Linked DNA regions of Homo sapiens: region 2 is linked to region 1. The links are contacts of gene promoters, found by promoter capture Hi-C in human tissues and cell types (Jung and others, 2019). All regions are on one chromosome and are shown on one strand. Each heading gives the region's core, a stretch centred on a gene start or on the middle of the fragment in contact. The rest is flanking DNA. Distances are from core to core; before and after follow the strand shown. Region 1 holds the start of EPB42 (erythrocyte membrane protein band 4.2). Region 2 overlaps STARD9 (StAR related lipid transfer domain containing 9).

What was found. Contacts are between HindIII fragments. The study calls those that stand out against the background at their distance.
Region 2: a fragment that was not itself captured here is called in contact with the fragment with the promoter of EPB42 in region 1 in 1 of the 25 tissues and cell types used here (heart right ventricle).

What each region holds. Positions count from the first base shown.
Region 1 is chr15:43,218,841-43,223,491 of GRCh38, forward strand. EPB42 (erythrocyte membrane protein band 4.2) reads right to left here and starts at 2,178. Exons shown (of 13, transcript NM_001114134.2): 1 at 1,976-2,178. The coding sequence starts at 1,985. The HindIII fragment of the contact is 9,374 bases long and covers 1-4,651 here.
Region 2 is chr15:42,719,273-42,723,980 of GRCh38, forward strand. It overlaps STARD9 (StAR related lipid transfer domain containing 9), which reads left to right. Exons shown (of 33, transcript NM_020759.3): 33 at 201-1,726. The coding sequence ends at 302. CDAN1 (codanin 1) reads right to left here. Exons shown (of 28, transcript NM_138477.4): 28 at 4,272-4,708. Among named protein-coding and RNA genes, the nearest start is that of CDAN1, 16 kb to the right of the region's middle. The HindIII fragment of the contact is 4,414 bases long and covers 779-4,708 here.

The sequences.
Region 1 (4,651 bases), core at 928-3,427:
CCCTTCTCTCCCACTGGGTCTTGAGGCAATGATACCTTCGTGTTTTCTCACCATCTCCTATTTGTACCACAGCCCATGAGAAGTTGTGTTAACCCGGAGATCATGTGGAATGCTCTTCAGAGGTGCACAATACCCCACCCTCCTCCCTCTCTGCCTTTCACAATACCCCAGAGCTGCCTCAGATGTGCCCCTCAAGCAGTTCTGTGTTTAACGACTGGCTGGGGGGAGGGGGCGGTGAGGGGAAAGGGCGTACTGAGTTACAGCATTTGCCAAGTTCTGTTGTGTAAACTACGCCCCCTGTGGCCAGTCTGAAGCTACTGAGGTGATGTCAGCAAGCGCAGAGCTGTGAAGAGGCGCGGACTGGCACATCATCATGTGGTTTTTCCAGCACAGAGATACAGGAGACATAAACGCCCTCAAGAACATAAAGGTAAAAAGGAGTAAAATACGTAGGAAGTGATGAGTTTAGAGTACTTATTATCTTTCTTTTTAATATAAATTTTTTACTTGTAAGTTTATACAATTTAATTTTTAATAATGCCTGTGTTTAAGAACTGGTTCACAAGGTTCCTCAAAATTTAGCAATTGGCTCTTGCAAGTCAGCACAAGCCAGCTCCAGCCACTGCAGCATGTCATGAGTTCATACTCAGTGATTCTCATCTGGTGGCTACTGGGCCCTCTGCCACCCACTGCCTGGAAAGAATTTAGTGCCCAGGGGCATCCTCTGGTTTGGGACTAGACTAAACAATCTCCTGATATCTTTGTGTTTCTCTGATTGAGTAGATTTTAATTTGTCTGGTCTCTACAGAATAAAAAGAACGATTTGGCCAGGCGCAGTGGCTCACGCCTGTAATCCCAGAACTTTGGGAGGCCGAGGCGGAGGATCACGAGGTCAAGAGATCGAGACCATCCTGGCCAACAAGGTGAAACTCCGTCTCTACTAAAAATACAAAAAATTAGCCGGGCATGGTGGTGGGTGCCTGTAGTCCCAGCTACTCAGAAGGCTGAGGCAGGAGAATCACTTGAACCCAGGAGGCGGAGGTTGCAGTGAGCCGAGATTGCGCCACTGAACTCTAGCCTGGTGACAGAGAGAGACTCCGTTTAAAAAAAAAAAAAAAAAGGACAATTTATTGGTGTCTGCCCTATTTTCACAAGACGTGGCTGAGATTATTGACTTAATTCACCCAGAGTTCTTTTTCTTCCCTTCTCAGCTGTTGGTCTCAGCGTCAGTTGCCCTCCGCACACCAGACCAACCAGGGCAGGGGAGTGAGGCAGTTTCTATAGCAACAGAACCACAGCTGCACCCCACTGTCCCCACACCTCTGCACCATTTCCCTCTGCCTACCCGCTTGCTTCTCCCAGGACACAAAACAGCCAGGCAATTCCCAGGCCAGGATATAATAATTCCTGCCAAGAGTGCTGCGACTCTGACCACCTGTGTTGGTTTCTTGCTTTGTGTCTGCCTCTGCCCCTTTTAGGTGGATTCCCTGACTCCCTCCTCTCCTTCTCTCCCATTTGGTGTAGAAGCTGTGACACCTTCATGCTACCCAGGGTGTCTCTCATTTGTATCAGTAAGCTGTGAACACTTATGCTATGATGACCTTGGGATAAGAATATAAATCCATGTTAACCACCATCACCATCTCACCATCATACAACTATCATGACCAGTTTACCCCAACATGCTACCCCATAACCACCCCACAGCAACATCACCATCACCTCCGCCTCCGCCTCCACCAGCACCCATCATCACACCACGCTCCACAGCCAGCTCACTATCACCTCTACCAGCACCCACCTACCACACCCCCCCCCCACAGCCACCTCATTATCACCAGTACCCCCTCCCCCACCATAGTTATACCACCATCTCCCCGCCTACCATCCATCCCACTTCCTTTAATGAAAACAGGTGATGCTGCGGGGGCTGCATACAGTCCAGCAAGCCCTGTCGAGCGCTGGCTTGGCTCACCCTGTCCCATGGTTGCAGGCCGCTCCTCTTATCCACTTGGCCGCAGAAAGCGCCTCTCTCAAACTGTTGCTTCTGGGCTCCTTCTGGGCTTTCTGTCTTCCAGACAGAAAATATGAAGGCACTTTTGTTGGCTTAAGAATCTGGAAATAGCAAAACCTCCCCCCACTACTCCTGTGAGCACCCTGACATGTTTCTTCTCTCCTACTCCCTCTCTGCTGGTATCTCCTGGACCAGTTACTGGGAGTAACCCTGTTCATTTTATCTCTTGTGCCAGGAGGCCCAGGCAGGAATACGCCTGGCAGCCCTGGGGGAGGGGGTGGGATGGGGAAGACCTGCCAACTAGAGAAGCCTAGAACAAACCTTGAAGCCTCTTGCTTCAGTGGTCTCAAGAGACTCTCAGAGATGTTATCTGGACTGCACTGGAAGACTCTGGAAGAGAGGAGGCCACAAACAGGAGTCCCATATCCAACTCCAAATCTCAGGCCCTAAACGTGACAGGGGCTGCAAGTTGCAAGATGTTCATGGGCTGTTTTGATAATAGAGAGAACACGTGCATCTGCAATTTATCTGTGTGAAAAAGATAAGGAAGTAGAATTTGTTGGTGAAAAATAAATGTATTAAAAGTAGAAGCTGGGGCCCCAACTCTTCCAAGCCTACCTGGTCTGGGACCCTCTACCAGAGAAGGTTGGGAACTATCTTGGGACTCAGGCCCTATGTCTTTTCAATTTTTCTTTCTTTAGTTCCTGAAGAGACAAGAGAAGGATCTCATATTTGGCCCTACCTGGGCTTGTGAAACTGTGTTACCAGAAGCACTTTCAGGGCAGCTGTACTTGCTGCATATACATGAGACGTCTATAGAATGATATAAAACACACTGCCAAAAATATTGGTTGCCTGTGGGGAGGGGATCTGGGCAGTGGGGTAGAAAGGTTATCTTTCTGCTGTTTACTCTTTTATACTTTTAAAACTTTGAACTTTTGAACTCATTTGAAGGATCTTATTATGTAAAAAAAAAAAAAAAAAAAAAAAATGAAACTTCTGCCTTTCACTAGCGCAGTGGCTCATGCCTGTAATCCCAGCACTTTGGGAAGCCAAGTCAGGCGGATCACCTGAGGTCAGGAGTTCGAGACCAGCCTGGCCAATATGGTGAAACCCTCTCTCTACTAAAAATACAAAAATTAGCTGGGCGTGGTGGCAGGCGCCTGTACTCCCAGCTACTCAGGAGGCTAAGGCAGAAGAATTGCTTGAACCTGGGAGGCTGAGGTTGCAGTGAGCCAAGATCGTGCCACTGCACAGCCAGCATGGAGCAAGACTCCATCTCAGAAAAAAAAAAAAAAATCCTTCATAAGAAATGAAGAAGTTAATTTTTCATTATTTGAAGATGTCATTTTTTACCTGGAAAACTTGAATCTACTAACAATGATTATAAAAGGTAATTTAGTGAGCTGGCTAATACCAAAAGTATAGAAGCCAATAGTTTTCATACCTGCAATCAATAACAAGTCAGAAACTGTAATTAAAGACCCAACCTATAATAGCAACAACAACAAAAGGTGAAATTTCTAGAAATAAACTTAAGAAATGTGAAGTGCTGTCAGTAAAACACTTGGAAACGGTATGGAGGGACACCAAATAAGACTTGAGCAGATAAAAAGGAAGATCACCATCCTGTGTAGGACAACTCAACTTTATAAAGCGGTCATTTCTTCCCAAGTTGATCTTAAGTTTAATTCATTCCCAATAAAAACACCAAGATTGTTTTTTGAAACTAGGTAAACTGATTCTAAGGTTCAAAAGGAAATTTCTAAGATAATAATAAAGTGTGACCAGCCTTCCTAGATATGAACACATAATATGATATTACTGTAATTGAAAAGTCCATAGATCAAAATACATGTATTAAATGTATGCTAAATGTGGCACTTCAAATCCATGGGGAAATGAAGGATTTATCAGTAAATGATTTTGGGACAACTAGCTTGTCAAAATACAGTTGGCTTCCTATCTTATGCCACACATCAAAATAAATTTCAGATGGATCAAAACTCTTATTAAATTCTTAAAGTAATAGAAGAAAAAATGAGACACTTCTTCTTAAGTTAACTTGGGAAAACCTTTAAAAATATTATGCAAAACTCAGAAGACAAAAAGAAAATACTGAGAAATTTGATTCCTTAAAAATTTTTAAATGGAAATATTCACAATGTTAAAAGATATGCAGATGGGGCACGGTGGCTCACACCTGTAATCCCAGAACTTTGGGAGGCCGAGGCGGGTGGATCACGAGGTCAGGAGTTTGAGACCAGCCTGGCCAACTTGGTGAAACCCCATGTCTACTAAAAATACAAAAAATTAGCTGAGCGTGGTGGCATGTGCCTGTAATCCCAGCTACTTGGGAGGCTGAGGCAGGAGAATAGCTTGAACCCGGGAGGTTGGAGGTTGCGGTGAGCTGAAACTGGGCCACTGTGCTCCAGCCTGGGCCACAGAGTGAGAATCCGTCTCAAAAACAAAACAAAACAAGATATGCAACAAGTTGGGTAAAATATTTGAAACTCATATCACGAAGGATTAATCTCCTTAATATAAAAGATGCCTATAAATCAATAAGAAAAGAATAACAAACTATTAGAAAAATGAGTAAAGGATATGATAGACAATTCACAGAAAAGGAAATAA
Region 2 (4,708 bases), core at 1,736-4,235, 500 kb before region 1:
CTTGACTTGTACTTTGTCACTAGGAGGTGAACGCCAATACTTAGATCTGGATGGCAGAGCCCAGGGGCCTGTAAACACCAAACCACAATCTGAGGTGCTTCTCCCATCACCACAGGCTGAGGGGACTCCATGGGACTGGAGTACGCCTGGCATTCTCTCAAATCTATTTGCACCTTAAATTCTTCTCTCTCTGCTTTCAGGTGGAACTTGGTGCTCCAGGCTTCCCACCTCAGCTCCTGAGCTCTTTCATCAAACGGCAGCCACTGGTTATAGCCAGACTGGCTTCCTTCCTTGGTAGGTAGCATCTCACCGTCAAGATGGTGCTGCTGAGATGCAGGCCCAGGCTGCTCAAGAGAGACACTGTGGCAGCTCCTTGTTACTTTCCATACCACAGTGCAGGAAAAGCTGATGCTACCTGCTGTGGCCGATTGGGGCAGACAGCACTGGCCCAGGGATGCTAGCAAAGCCCAGTCAGTACTTGGTCACAGCTGGCACCAGTGCAGAGCAAACGGCCTGAGCTCCTGGCCCAGACTATCCAGAGTGAATGCAGCTCCGCTCACCTTTTGGATTTCTCACCTTTCTTTCCTGTTTCTGGGACTCTGCGGCAGACAGGACACTTAAGGACCAGGACTGGGCACAGCCAGCAGAGCCGGGGACTGCAGTGCTTTGGCAAGGTGCTTCCGCAGGCTGGTAGGGAAGCAGGCAGCCACTGGCCAAGACTCTGTTCTGAATCTACCTCCTCTAGCATTCAGCTCTACTGTGTGATGGGACGTTAAAAATACCAAAACAGAAAGAGGGTTTAAAAAACAGCTGCACAAACCAGAACACCGATTCAGAATCTTTTCTCCCTCTTGAGTTTTTGCAAAATACTTTATTATTGATTTTTGCTTTTTTTCTCCCTTTCCCTCCCAGGAGAAGACATTTGGGTCTTGGCCTGAGGCAGGGGTGTTGAGCGATGATGCTCTGATATGGAGCTGTCACTCTAGAGCTCGGTCAGATGGAAGACACTATAGAACCAGGTTGGACAGATTTGGGGTCAGGGTTGGAGGCTGAGTTCTTTTGAGGACTGGTTGGAGTGGCAGCCAGATGGTGGCTGCTGACAAGGCAAGAGGAATTTCAGAGATTAAACATTGTCCTTTGAGGAAGGGAGAGGAGGTGAATGAACTCCCAGAGGAGGTGAGTGGCTTGTTGGGAGGAAGCTCAGTTCCAGAACTTACCTCAGTGCACTTGGGAGGGGTGGAGTCCTGAGCATTCCATGATTTCTGCCCTGGCCCCACCTATCCTAGGATGGGGTGGGATGGAGAGTGGGTTCAGTTTTCTTGTACTTTAGCCTGGCTGAACATGAACTTTGTGTTTACCTGGAAGTGGTAGGGGTGGGAGAGATTCTCATCTTTAGTTCTGGTGCCCAAAATCTTTGGTAGATGGAGGGAACTGGGGATTCAGAAGATGTGGTAAAGGTCTATTTCTGTAGTGTGGCAGAGATGTGTTTTTCTAAAGTGTTTGCAGGGCATTTTTCCCTCTTACCTCAGATTAAGTTATTTATATATTGTTGATTGAAGGTTTTTTAAAATTGCTTTTAAACTTCTATTTCTCGGGTAAATTTTTTGGTGACATGATATATTTAACACCCTATTTATATACTCCTACCTCTTTTCATATAAATCTCTTACTAAGACTACTGACCAAAAAAGAACATTTTAAAATTAAAAGTCCTCTGTGTACTTTATCTAGTGAAGAGTAGATGAAATCCTGCACCGGGATAGCCTAAGTGTGTGATTCGAGCTTGGCAGATTAGCTGGAGATCACCCTGGCAATACCCACTCATAGCTGTTTCAAAGATTCAGTTTACATGTATGTACAGTTTCCCATGAACTTGGCATTGCTTTGCAGGGTAAACAGCAACCAGGTAAGTTGCTCAACTATAGCCCAAGTAAGAACTAAAGGGGAGAATCCAGAACAGTCACTGCCACACCTAACAGTGACCACAGTGCCCTGGGGCTTCTGAGGCAGAGCCACCTATGGGAATCTGAGTCAGGGGATAACCAGGAGGTGACCCTGCCCGCCTTAATAGAGAAGCCAGCCGGGCATGGTGGCTCATGCCTGTCATCCCAGCACGTTGGGAGGCTGAGGCGGGTGGATCACCTGAGGTCAGGAGTTTGAGACCAGCCTGGCCAACATGGTGAAACCTGTCTCTACTAAAAATACAAAAAATTAGCCAGGCGTGGTGGCATGTGCCTGTAATCCCAGCTACTTGGGAGGCTGAGGCACAAGAATTGCTTGAACCTGGGAGGGGGAGGTTTCAGTGAGCCGAGCCGAGATTGTGTCACTGCACTCCAGCCTGGGCAACAGAGTGAGACTCTGTCTCAAAAAAAAAAAAAAAAAAAAGCAACACCAGACCTGACTGAATCAGCAAGCGAAAGATTGAGAGGGATCTTGTAGCAAAAAGCAAAAGTGGAGTCAGATTTTGGATTCATGGCGTGGTTGTCATACTTTCGCATACATCAGAATCACCTGAACGCTTTCTTATGCCCCAGGATGGGCCCTACCCCAAGTTACTGGTTTGGTAGCCCCGGAGAAGGACCAGAGAATTTGTGTTAACAAGAAGTCCCAGGGGACCCTGAAGTTTGCTGGTCTGGGGACCACATTTTATAAACAGCTGGCTTTGACAATTAGAGAGCAGACATACAGAATCTAGTTCACTGACCCACTAGCTGCCTGTCTCCATAATCCTTAGAGTAGCCTTTAAGGCTCACACAGGCCAGCAGGAAGTTTCCTTCATCGGGAACATGTTAAATTTCCATTCAGATTCCCAAGAACTTGTTTTTAACTCAGTGGGCCTTAAGCCAGGCCTGGGTTATGGCCCAGCCCTTCAGTCTCAGCATCCTTAGGGGTTTCAGGTTTTCCTCTCCTGCCCATTCCATGTCACACACCTCAGCTGGGTCCTCTGGAACAAGTCAAGGAGTAGCCACAAGCCTGACGCTGACCCTAAGCTTCCTGGGTGGGGGCGGTGCTATGGTTTAATCACACCCAGTGCTGGTCTCTGGGCATAGAAAGCTTTTTTTTTTTTTTTGAGACAGACAGGGTATCGCTCTGTAGCCCAGGCTGGACTGCAGTGGTGTGATCATGGCTCACTGTAGCCTTGACCTCCTGGGCTCAAGTGATCCTCTGACCTCAGCCTCCCAAGTAGCTATGACCACAGGCATGGACCACCACTCCTCACCAATTTTGTATTTTTTAAAGATGAGGCTTCCCCATGTTGCCCCGGCTGGTTCAAACTCCTGAGCACAAGTGATCCTCCCGCCTTGACCTCCCAAAGTGCTGGGATTACAGGTGTGAGCCACTGTGTCCGGCCGAGAAAGCATTCCTTAAAGCTTTTTTGGTTCCCAGGCATTCAGAACAAATTGGATTTAAAGGATAAAGATAAAGGCCTTTGAAAATGAAGAGATCAGGGGAAAATGGTTCAGATATAGAAACTTGTTAAAGGAGTAGCTGAGCTGAGGAGAAGGGAAAGGCATGGTGTTTGGGAGAAGTATGATCACAAGGTGGTGACTGAGGAAAACTCCCATTTTTTACTTTCTAGGTTGATGGGATTTCCTGGCTCTACCATGGTCACACAAGTGGACCCCTTTAGGTCCTCCTGAGGATTATATTATCAGTCCAACTCCTGGTTATTAATGCACATGATCACAGTAGTGCTTTTTTTTTTTCCCCTCAAAGAGATGGGGGTCTCACTCTTGCTCAGGCTGGAGTGCAGTGGCACAATCATAGTTCACTGTAACCTCTAACTCCTGGACTCAAGTAGTCCTCTCTCTCGGCTTCCCAAAGCACTGGGATTACAGGTGTGAACCTGTCAAAATCAGTGGCTCATTTATAGAGCTTGATACAGCTGTAATCGAGAAGCAATGCTTTTGCTCTGAGAAACTCCAAGCCAAATCAATCAAACAAACACCTTAGCCTTAACAAGCTTAACAAGAACACTGCCCCACCATGTGGTTCAGTAGGGAATATCTTGTGTGTGGAAACTACATTATCCTAACCCTTTCTCCCACAAATAAAGCGAGTTACACAGGAGAAGTCAGTACCACTGGCGATAAATTAAATTAATAGATATTGCCACCAGAGACTAGCCCTCTAGAGTGGAATATACAGGCATTTCTAAGAGCCAAGGTAGCTCACCTTGTAATGCACAGAGCAAAGCCACAATTACAGCGCTCCACCTACAGCCCACCCGAGACTGCAGCCTTCTAAAGGGAGAAGACAGGTGACAATGATTAGACATCAAGCCCTTGTTAAAGAAAACCAGTTTATTCTAAAAAGCTCTAAATGCCCTGTGCTTGGTCCCTGGTCAGGGAGAGGTCTCAAGAGGTTACTACCTGCACAGGGGCTGAAGGTACAGGGGGAAAGTCAGGTTTCAGTTGGTTGAGTCCTACCTTATCTGTTTGTTAGGCTTTTTCTAGAAAGTCTCGCTCTGTTACCCAGACTGGAGTGCAGTGGTGCGACCTCGGCTCACTGCAACCTCCACCTCCAGGTTCAAGCAGGTCTCCTGCCTCATCCTCCTGAGTAGCTGGGATTACAGGCACACACCACCATGCCCAGCTAATAATTTTTTTATTTTTAGTAGAGATGGGGTTTTGCCATGTTGGCCAGGCTGGTCTTGAATTCCTGACCTCAGGCAGTCCGCCGACCTCAGGCCTCTCAAAGTGCTGGG